2 separate regions of the Homo sapiens genome follow, and region 2 is linked to region 1. Evidence: promoter capture Hi-C in 16 types of primary human blood cells and fetal thymus (Javierre and others, 2016). All regions are on one chromosome and are shown on one strand. The core of a region is centred on a gene start or on the middle of the fragment in contact, and the rest is flanking DNA. Distances in the headings are between cores, read along the strand shown.

Region 1 (5,437 bases), core at 302-2,801:
AGGATCACTTGAGGCCAGTTCAGGGTCTCACACTGTTGACTAGCCTGGTTAACAAACCAAAACCCCAACTGTACAAAAAATTTTTAAATTAGCCAGGCGTGGTGGCACGTGCCTGTGGTCTCAGCGGCTCAGGAGGCTAAGCAAGGAAAATCACTTGGGCCCAGGAGTTCCAGGCTGCCGTGAGCTGTGATCGCACCACTGCACTCCAGCCTGCGCAACAGAGCAAGGCTGTCTCAAAATCAAAACAAAACAAAATGAAAGAAAAAGAAAGAAAGAAGGAAAGAAAGAAAGTAAATTCCGTGATGGTAAGTGATGGATCTGTGTTTCAAATAATATAGAGGGATCATATTTTACATATTCTCAGAATTCATATTATAAAGATCCCTACAGTGACTGCACAGTTAAGAATGCTCTCATAGATGTAAACTTCCAATCTACACTGTGGGCAACGCTAGATTTTTACAAATCAGGTTTGCTGTGTAACATATGCGTGTACTGTGCATTACTAAACCTAGTTCTAAATACAGCACAGCTGAAATTTTGTGGGTAACGTGATCATTCGGCAAATGTTGCCAGCCCCTATCATATTCAGAACCCTGTGTTCTGAGATGCTCAAGTTCAAGCTGAGGAATTTGCTAAACAAATCTCTGGCAAGGAATCAGCAGTGATTTTCTGTATCCTTAAATCCTTCCAAACAGAAATGGCAAAACATACGACCCGAGTCCATAATTCCTAAAGTTTCAATCTTCTCGCACTGTTTGAGTTTTAACTCGCTTATTCCCCCAAAGGAGTATGCCATTTACTTAATTTAAAAATTAAACAGCATAAAAACTTCTGAACTCTGAGTGAGACAGCGATCAGAGTTAAAAATAACTGATTTCGCGCGTTTCCGTGCAAAATGGGAGACAGACGTGACGGAGAGAGACCGAGCAGTGCCACGGCCCGGTAGAGGGTGCGGGGGCTTGCACCCGCTGGTGTTTGTGAGAGAGCGCTGGTGTAGACGCGAACGCAGCGCAGGCGGCCCGGCGGCGCGGCCTCAGGTCGGGGCCTTTCCAGCGTTCCAGCTACACCGAGCGCGCGGGGGCGAAAACATGTGCATGGTGTTTGGGGACTGTGCGCATGGGAGTGTTTTCACTGTCAACCAGGGTTCTTTTTCTTATTTTGAACCCATTTTCATGATGCACCGGAATGCTGAAGTTCAAAATTGCCTACGGAGAATTTTAAGACTAAAACCACACTAAGTTTCTTGTGTTAACTATAAATGCGGGTCAGAGTGAAAGCCGAGTAGGGAGGAGTGAAAAGGGGGAAAAGGGAAGAGATAAGAGGAAGAAAAGATGAAAGAGCCGGCGGAAGAGGGAGGGAAGCGGGGGCGGGCAGGCGAGCAGAGGCAGGGAAAGAGCGGCGCGGGTTGCGGGAAAGCTCCGCGCGCAGTACCCAACCGAGGCCCGGGCGCGCGGTCCTCCCGCCGGCAGGGGGCGCCCACCCGCCCGCCTCCGGCCCCTCGCGGCCAGCCGCCCCGCCCGCGCCTGCGCTTCCTGCCCCTCCTCGTCCGGGATGCTGCTGCCGCTACTGCGGAGTAGCTGCTTCCCTTCCTCCTCTCCCGGCGGCGGCGGCGGCAGCGGCGGAGGAGGAGGAGGAGGGGACCCGGGCGCAGAGAGCCGGCCGGCGGCGCAGTTGCAGCGCGGAGCCCACGGGCCGCCGGGGCCGCTCCAGCGGGCGGAAGCCGAGCCCGGGGCCGACCCCCCGCGCGCGGCGGAGGCCGAGGGGGCGCCGGGGCCCGGGGCGCGCAGCCGGGGGGCGGGCGGCGGCGGGCGGCGGGCCGAGCGGGAGCCGCATGCGTGTATGGATCCGGGCGCCGCGCTGCAGAGGCGGGCCGGGGGCGGCGGCGGTCTGGGCGCGGGCTCCCCGGCGCTGTCGGGCGGCCAGGGCCGCCGGAGGAAGCAGCCCCCCAGGCCGGCCGACTTCAAGTTGCAGGTCATCATTATCGGCTCCCGCGGCGTGGGCAAGACCAGCCTGATGGAGCGCTTCACCGACGACACCTTCTGCGAGGCCTGCAAGTCCACCGTGGGTAAGGGCGCCACGGCGACCCTGGGCCGGGCCTCCTGGCGCCCGGGCAGGTGCCCTTCGCCCCGTGGGCTTCGAGTCTCATCGAGCCTGGGAGTCTTTCGGGGATGGGCCTCTCGGTGAAACTAGGGGCGGGGGTCTCCTTGGAGCGCCCTGCATCCCAATCCCAAAGCCTGGCAGAGGTTTTCGTGCCGCCTCCGGGCAGACCTGCCCTTGGCCCCCGGCCCTGCCTCAGAGGTCCTGGCAGCCCCCGGGGCCTGTGGGGGCGGCTCTCCACGGAAACTTCGGCCCTTAGCATACTCGCCCAAGAAAAAGCTGGGTTCGAGTGGAGCGCAGGCAGGCAGGGGAGTGAACGCCTAAGGCCGCTCTCGCCCGGCCCGCCAAGGCCAGCGCGCGCCGTCTGCTGCGGGTGTGATCCCTGCGCAACCAGGGCAGTTTTCTTATTTTGAACCCATTTTCAAGAAATGAAGTTTAAAGTCACCTATGGAGAATGTTAAAACTAAAACTACAGTAAGTTTCTCGTGCTAGCCGTACGTACGGGGCAGAGGAGCTTCAGCTGTATTTATCCATGACCTCAAACAACCCGGTGACTGGCGGGCATGGGGTTGATTCCTCCAGTACCGCTGTTTTCGGTGAGGGACAGGAGTGAAGTAAGTACAGGAACGCTCCAGGGTCAAGGAGGAAAACAGCCGTGGATCTGAAATGGAAACTGCAGGGGAAATTTTTTTAATTAAGTCATGCTTAGAGGACTTGACATTGAGATTTCTCAGTTGGATGTGGGTAGCAGTTGTTTCTATGGAAAACCCCTTAAAAGATGTCCAAACTAGGAGAACCCCGTTCTTTAAAATAAAGGGCAGTCACTTCCGTGATAGGAAGTGAGAGATTTCCCCAGGGGCGGTCCAAGAAACTGAGTAGTCAGGAGATTTGATAGAATTAAAAGCATAATTTCATGTAATTCTATTTATTAATAGTGTTATAACCAGTGGTAGTTCCAAGGCTGTCAGTACGATTTTGAGATGACTTGATTTGAAATTGTCATGTAACAAAACAGTACTACATTTAAAGTGTCTTATTGGAAAGTGAAACCTCCAATTTTTGTACTGTCTTTCTTGGTTTGTTTTCAAGAACTTACTTCCCTTAATGCTTTTTTGGAATAGATCATTTTGGAAATATTTGTGATGTCTGTACCATATGTTTTTAAAATGTTGTCGTTGGAGACATTATATTAAAATGAGTAGCATAACTATACCTGTTTCAAATATCCAGTCTTGGATCATGCAGAGTACAGGGAGTTGTTAAACCATCAAATGAGGGTTAGGCTGTTATTTTAGTACCTGACATAAATAAAGTAGGGTTAAATTCCGTTTAGAATTGTCAATATTTTATGGCTCCGTACTTCAGTATATAAAAATGAGAGATAATAGAGTTGCACTGTGTGATGAAGAGAAATCAGGTACCCATAGGTGGGTAACTGAGGGCTTGAGTGGATGGAGGGTGAGATGGATGAGCAAAGGTGTGCTTTAGAATGCAGAAGAGGAGAGAGGAAGAAGGATTTTCTAAGCCTGGCAGCAGTGGAGCAGCCCCCCACCTCTGGGGAGGGTTCCTTAGGGGACTTGGGAATGGATGCTGCGAGACCTTGACCGCCATGCTAAGGAGAATGGACCCGATCCTATGGGCACCTGGAACCAAAAGACTCCTTAGTAAGGCATTGGCACGAAAACAGTTTGGCAGAGTTGCATAGGATGTTTGGGAATAAGGAAGAGCTGCGGAGGATGCTTGGGAATAAGGAAGAAACCAGGAGGCAAGGAGACCAAGCAGTTTGTTTCTGTGTCCCTTAACAAACATGCACTTACCCGAGCACATACTCCCTACTCTGAGTGTGGTTGAATTTCTGTCTTGCTCATTTTTGTTTGCTTCACATGTAGCCTATAATACTTAGAGTACTGGAGTACTTTAGTACTCAGTGCGTGCTTCTAACTGTGGGATGTTCAGAGAATGATCATGGCCCCTGGCCTGCTGCAGAGCGGGAAGACACTGTGAGAACGCCAGCCAGCTCCACTTCAGTTTCTGCTTCAGAGTTGCTTTTCCCCTCCACTCATCAGATCGTTTGTTGAGCACCTACTGTGTGTTGGGTGTTATGCTACCCAGTGGGGATTCAGTGGTAAACAGGACATCGACTCTGTCCAGAAGTGGATCGGAGCTTCTGGGAGCTGCGTGACCGCTTGTCAGGGCAGTGACAGATGTGTATGGGTATTTGGGAGCACAGTGAAAGCGCCTCCAGTCGAGGCTAGTGATGAGGCCTGGTCAGAGAAGGCTTCCTCGTCATTGGAATGTTTGAAGATAAGTTTGTTCCTCTAGTTCCTTTAGAAAAATGCAAATTAAATATGGTACTGGGTGTGGTGTAGAATTGTGGTTGCCTTACCTGAACGCTTACCATTTGAGCAGTTAGCTCCCGGGGTTCTTCCCAGGCTGGTTTTTCTAGTTTCATCTTCATGTAGTGCAGTGAATTCCATATAGAGCAAGAGTCTCTTCCACAGTAGGAGTTTCTCCCTACCCTGTCAGGGCTGCTCGCGACAGCCGTCTGGGAAAGACCGTGAGCCTCACAGCATGGCCCAGGGAAGAGTCCCTGAGTGTGCCTGGACCAAGATGGGTCACTAGAGTGGTAGTATTGTCTAATTCCTAGGCTAGGAGAGTGTTTCCATTAAGAGCCTTTTTATTTTTATTTATTTATTTATTTTTGAGACAGAGTCTTGCTCTGTCACCCAGGCTGGAGTGCAGTGGTACGATCATGGCTCACTGCAGCCTCGACCTGCCAGGCTCACACAATCTTCCTGCCGCAGCCTCCTGAGTAGCTGGGACTGCAGGTGCACACCACCAAGCCCTTTTTTGATTTTTAGTAGAGACAAAGTCTTGCTATGTTGTCCAGGCTGGTCTCAAACTCCTAGTCTCAAGCACTTGGCCTCCCAAAGTGCTCAGATTACAGGCGTAAGCCACTGCTCCTGACCAGTAAGTGCCCTTTTAAAGTAAATGGGATTCACTTGAACTTTCTATAAAAGATCCGTAGTGGAAGTCCTTAGGGATTTGAGATGATGAACTATTATGTAAAATTATAAATGAGCAAAATGTTGTTTTTTGTATTGTTAATCAAATCAGAAACTGGTTTAAAAGATTTACAAAATTCACAAGGGTATGAAAAACAGAGGTTGTATTTACTGATTGGTCTGTTTAATGGAAATTGTCTAATGGAATTGTCTCATATTTTCAAATGGGATTTTGTTTTCATGGAATTTAATTAGTCTGATTATAATTTACAAGTTCTTTTAAAAAGTACAGGAGCAGCTTTTTAAAGTTTGAGAAACAGAAAAAAGTAATT
Region 2 (5,445 bases), core at 2,353-4,852, 1.0 Mb after region 1:
TTAACCCAGCTTCACTTACAATGCAGCTCGTGGATGGCAGAGCTGTGTGTTGTCCGTGGTCAGACACACAGGAAGTCTGAATTGTTATCCTGTTCTGCCACTGAAATGTGTAAAATATAGGGGGAGTGTCCCAAGTCATTTTCCTAAAAGCATCATCCAACTATGTAAGTACTAAGGCCTGCATTTTTAAGAATAAGTCCTCTTCCAAATGATAAGGAAAGGGTTTTTGTTTGTTTGTTTTTGAGACAGGCTCTTGCTGTGTCACCCAGGCTGGAGTGCAGTGGTGCAGTCTCAGCTCACTGCAACCTCCACCTCCTAGGCTCTGGCAGTCCTCCCACCTTAGCCCCCTGAGTAGTTGGGACTACAGGTGGGCGCCACCACACCCAGCTAATTTTGGTATTTTTTCGTAGAGACGGGGTTTTGCCATGTTGCCCAGGCTGATCTCAAACTCCTGGGCTCAGGTGATCTGCCCGCCTTGGCCTCCCAAAGTGCTGGGGTTATAGGCATGAGCCACTGTGCCTGGCCACAGTGACAATTTTTCTTAGCAGCCAATGAGCCTTGGAAATTAATGTGTCTGGCTTTTCAACCACAAACAAACATAAAAAAAAAATGGCGAAAACATCGCTAATAAACAAAACCCACCTGATGTTGCTTGCCACTATCATGTTTGTTAATTTTTGTATCGGTGATTGAACCATTCACTTTTTTCTTCAGAATTATCATTCCTGAAACTGAAAGTATATAAGGACAGCCCTATTATTTATTGTTTTAAATGATGAAAAGAGAAACAGTCTGAAAAATGGAGAAATACTTACATGATTAAAAATGATTTTTAAACAAATATTTATTTGCTTTTTTAAAATGAAATTTGCGTGTCATCTTTGCACAGGGGCCATGCTAATCTTCTCTGTATCAGTCTAATTTTAGTGCATGTGCTGCTGAAACGAGCACGTTAAACAAATTTTTACCATTCATTTCATTCATCTTTTTTGAAGCCAGATTGACAAAATGTCCCTCATAAACTCATTTTCAAATAAGAAGAACAATTTTTAGGCCATGTGTGGTGGCTCACGCCTGTAATCCCAGCACTTTGGGTGGCTGAGGTGGGCAGATCACCTGGCGTTGGGAGTTCGAGACCAGCCTGGCTAACATGACGAAACCCTGTCTCTACTAAAAATACAAAAAATTAGCTGGGCATGGTGGCACATGCCTGTAATCCCAGCTACTAGGGAGGCTGAGGCAGGAGAATCACTTGAACCGGGGAGGCAGAGGTTGCAGTGAGCCAAGATCATGCCACTGCACTCCAGTCCGGGACACAGAGTGAGAGTCTGTCTCAAAAAAAAAAAGGAACAATTTAAAAAAACTAATTGCCAGTCTCTTACCTAAAGCCTCCTATACATTTCTATACATTGTATAAAGGTAAGGACAGACGCAGTGGCTCACGCCTGTAATCCCACCACTTTGGGAGGCTGAGGCAGGCAGATCACAAGGTCAGGGGATCGAGACTATCCTGGCTAACAGTGAAACCCAGTCTCTACTAAAAATACAAAAAAATTAGCCAGGCATGGTGGCGGGCACCTGTAGTCCCAGCTACTCGGGAGGCTGAGCCAGGAGAATGGCGTGAACCCAGGAGGCAGAGCTTGCAGTGAGCCAAGATCGCGCCACTGCACTCCAGCCTGGGTGACAGAGCGAGACTGTCTCAAAAAAAAAAAAAAATTGTATATTTGTGAAATTTTACTTGTCCTCCTCTCTATGCTTCTTCTATCTCCCTTTAAAGCTCCCTGTCAAGGTGACATTCTGAATGTGAAGCCTTAGCCTTTCCTAGAGCTTTCATAGTTTTTCAAAGATACTTGATCTCTTTACTCACATCAGCTAAAGAGACATTTTCTCACACTGTGCTTAAGAAAGAAGAGAGAAAGAAAGAAGGGGAGGGAGGGAGGGAAGGAGGGAGGGAAAGAAAGGAAAAGAAAAGAAAAGAGAAGAAAAGAAAAGAAAAAAGAGAAGAAAAATACCTACAGAACTGAGCTCTATACAGAGTTACCCTGATTCAGGCTGTTCTTTCTACATTTACAGGAGCTGAACACTGCCCCGAGAATGCAACAGAACTTCAGCTCTGTCCCAAGGTCGTCAGCCACAGCTCCAAGTTTCTTAGCATCAGCTTTTTCTGAACAAAATAGTGCATCCTGCTGGAATCACTACTGTAAACTGAGTATAAAGGAAAATAAACCCTCTTTTTCTTATCCACTATGTTCCCTACTCCCGTGCTTTTCCCAGTGCTCCAGGTTAGTAGAGGCAAAAGAATTCCCCACTGATGAGGTACTACATCCTACACAATTTGTTCCACACATTTTAATTTCATTAAGAGAAAACAAAGATGTTTAAACAGTGAGCACTAAATGGATTAGAGTGGCAGTAGTAAATTTCCTTTGTGCCTTTCTCTTAGAATTTAGAAAGCTTTAGTTGCAATCCCATTCAAAGCAATATGGGAGAGGCTTCCACAATGCCTGGCACAGAGTACGTGTGGAGGAAATGCTTATCATTTTAGATGCTTATTATTTTAAATGTTTAAATGTTTATTATTCTGAATCTGAATGGATGAGTCAAGTTGAACCAGGAAATAAACCATAGCAAACCACATATTCAAACCCAGATAAGTTCAGTGGTTAACTGCCCTGACTCTAAGCTCCCTTCACACTAAGGCTGCTCTATGGTAATATGATTCAGAAGAAATTACTTCCATTCTCATTTCACTTCTCTGTAACTGTTTGTAACAAATTGCTTGTGTCTCTGGTCCTTGGTTCCTTCCTTTGGTGGGAAAAATATTAGCACAATGACACAATATAATTCCCAGACTAGATAGCTAATACATTTTCTAACTTTTTATTTAGAAACAATTACAGATTTACATGAAGTTTCAAATGATGTGCCAGGATGTCCTATGTCACTTTCACATCAGTTCCCCCAATGGTAATATTACCGTATATATGAAACATTTTTCAGAGCGTGTGCCAGGCATCATGTTAAGCGCTTTTTCTTTTTTTTTCTTTTTTTCTTTTTTTTTTTTTTTTCTGAGATGGAATCTCGCTCCATCACCCAGGCTGGAGTGCAGTTGCACAATCTCAGCTTGCTGCAATCTCAGCTTGCTGCAACCTCCGCCTCCCGGGTACAAGCGATTCTCCTGTCTCAGCCTCCTGAGTAGCTGGGACTACAGGCGCCCACCACCATACTCAGCTAATTTTTGTATATATATATATATATTTTTTTTTTTTTTTTGTACAGACGGGGTTTCACCATGTTGGCCAGGCTGGTCTCAAACTCCTGACCTCAAGTGATCCACCTGCCTCGGCCCCCCAAAGTGGTGGGATTACAGGTGTGAGCCACCGCGTCCAGCCTGTTAAGCACTTTTATGTGCTTTCTGATTATTTAAAACAGCCCTGTGAAGTAGAAATTGATATTACCATTTTAAAAATAAAGGAAATCGAAGCTCAGAAAGGTTGGGTATTTTGACAAAGATCAAAAAGCAAATGACCTGGCACAGTGGCTCACACCTGTAATCCCAGCACTTTGGGAGGCCGAGGTGGGTGGATCATTTGAGGCCAGGGGTTCGAGACCAGCCTGGCCAACATGGTGAAACCCTGTCTCTACTAAAAATACAAAAGTTAGCTGGGTGTGGTGGCACATGCCTGTAATCCCAGCTACTCGGGAGGCTGAGGCATTAGAATCTCTTGAACCCAGGAGGTGGAGTTTGCAGTGAGCCGAGATCACACCACTGCACTCTGGCCTGGGTGACAGAGTGAGACTGTCTCAAAAAAAAAAAAAAAAAAGAAAAGAAAGAAAGCAAGCAAGCAAGCAAATAGGGGAATTAGTATTCAAACACTGGAATCCTGATTCTAAATAATGGCAATAGCGTTTGCGTATCCTCACATTCATAGCTTTTCTGTCAAAATGGTCCTTCGTCAACTTCTTTCGCATTAAGAGAACTTCTAGTCTTTCAACATGTATGGTCTTGGTATAATCTCTAATTCCATCTAAGTTATCACTGTTCCCTGAGGATTTTGTCATTGAAACATTTTAGGAGTCACCTCTTCACTCCGTTTCTCACTCAATATCCTGACCAAGATATTAACCACTTCAAAACCATACTAATAACTTTTTAACTAGCCTGTTTCAATTATTCTGGCCAAGTATACAAAAATTATCTTTCTCATATAATATTTTGTTCATCACAATTCTGTGAAATTCCCAAGCAAGTGCCTTAACAGTGTCCTCTCACCAGCTGCCCTTGGCTTGAATGGCTGCAGTTTGCCACCATTTCATTATTCGGACAAATCATCCAGGTAGACAATCTTGAACTCAGGTGCCAACTCACTTCTCCCTCAAACGATGTTCTTGGTTTTTTAGGAGGTTTTGTTGTTGCTGCTGCTTGTAGGTATGTGGCAGGTGTTGGGAGGGGTGGAATTCTACATATTTTTTTTTTTTTGAGATGCGGTCTCACTTTGTTGCCCAGGCTAGTCTTGAACTGCTGGGTTCAAGCAATCCTCCCACTTTGGCCTCCCAAAGAGCTGGGATTACAGGTGTGAACCACCATGGCCGGCCGGAATTCTACATCTTTGTAACATTTATTCTTTTCTGAATTTTCCAATTACAAAAATACATGTTTTTGGAGTGCCCAGAAAAGTATAAAGAAAAAACTAAAATCTCCAAAAATTTAGAGATAATACCCCCAAACAGTTTATGTTTACCTATTTTTTAAAGCTTTCAAAGTCCTATATTTAAAAAAGTTTAGCCTAGGCCGGGCGCGGTGGCTCACGCCTGTAATCCCAGCACTTTGGGAGGCTGAGGTGGGCGGATCACGAGGTCAGGAGATTGAAACCACCCTGGCTAACATGGTGAAACCCCGTCTCTACTAAAAATGCAAAAAATTAGCCGGGCGTGATGGCGGGCGCCTGTAGTCCCAGCTACTCGGGAGGCTGAGGCAGGAGAATGGCATTAATCTGGGAGGCGAAGCTTGCAGTGAGCCAAGATCGCGCCACTGCACTCCAGCCTGGGCGACAGTGGGAGACTCCGTCTTGGGGGGAAAAAAGAAAAAAAAGTTTAGCCGGGCGTGGTGGCTCATGCCTGTAATCCCAGCACTTTGGGAGGCTGAGGAGGGTGGATCACCTAAGGTCAGGAGCTTGAGACCATCCTGACCAACATGGTGAAACCCTGTCTCTACTAAATAATAATAAAAAATTAGCCAGGTGTGGTGGCACATGCCTGTAATCTCAGCTACTTGGGAGGCTGAGGCAGGAGAATCTCTTGAACCTGGGAGGCAGAGGTTGCAGTGAGCCGAGATTGTGCCATTGCACTCCAGCCTGGGCAAAAAGAGCAAAACTCCGTTTAAAACAACAACAACAACAAAAAAAAACAAAAAACCCCAAAACTTTAAATAGCTTTATTGAGATA

What was found. Contacts are between HindIII fragments. The CHiCAGO score rates a contact against its expected background, and 5 or more counts as called.
Region 2: a fragment that was not itself captured here is called in contact with the fragment with the promoter of RAB12 in region 1 in 2 of 17 cell types (activated CD4 T cells and non-activated CD4 T cells); the score reaches 7.8 in activated CD4 T cells.

What each region holds. Positions count from the first base shown.
Region 1 is chr18:8,607,886-8,613,322 of GRCh38, forward strand. RAB12 (RAB12, member RAS oncogene family) reads left to right here and starts at 1,552. Exons shown (of 6, transcript NM_001025300.3): 1 at 1,552-2,068. The coding sequence starts at 1,555. RefSeq lists silencers at 1,380-1,609, 2,040-2,339 and an enhancer at 2,790-2,839. The HindIII fragment of the contact is 24,115 bases long and covers 1-5,437 here.
Region 2 is chr18:9,617,122-9,622,566 of GRCh38, forward strand. It overlaps PPP4R1-AS1 (PPP4R1 antisense RNA 1), which reads left to right. Exons shown (of 3, transcript NR_110773.1): 2 at 27-164; 3 at 2,074-2,242. It also overlaps a transcript of PPP4R1 not described here and the pseudogene RNU6-903P. Among named protein-coding and RNA genes, the nearest start is that of PPP4R1-AS1, 5.0 kb to the left of the region's middle. The HindIII fragment of the contact is 2,301 bases long and covers 2,453-4,753 here.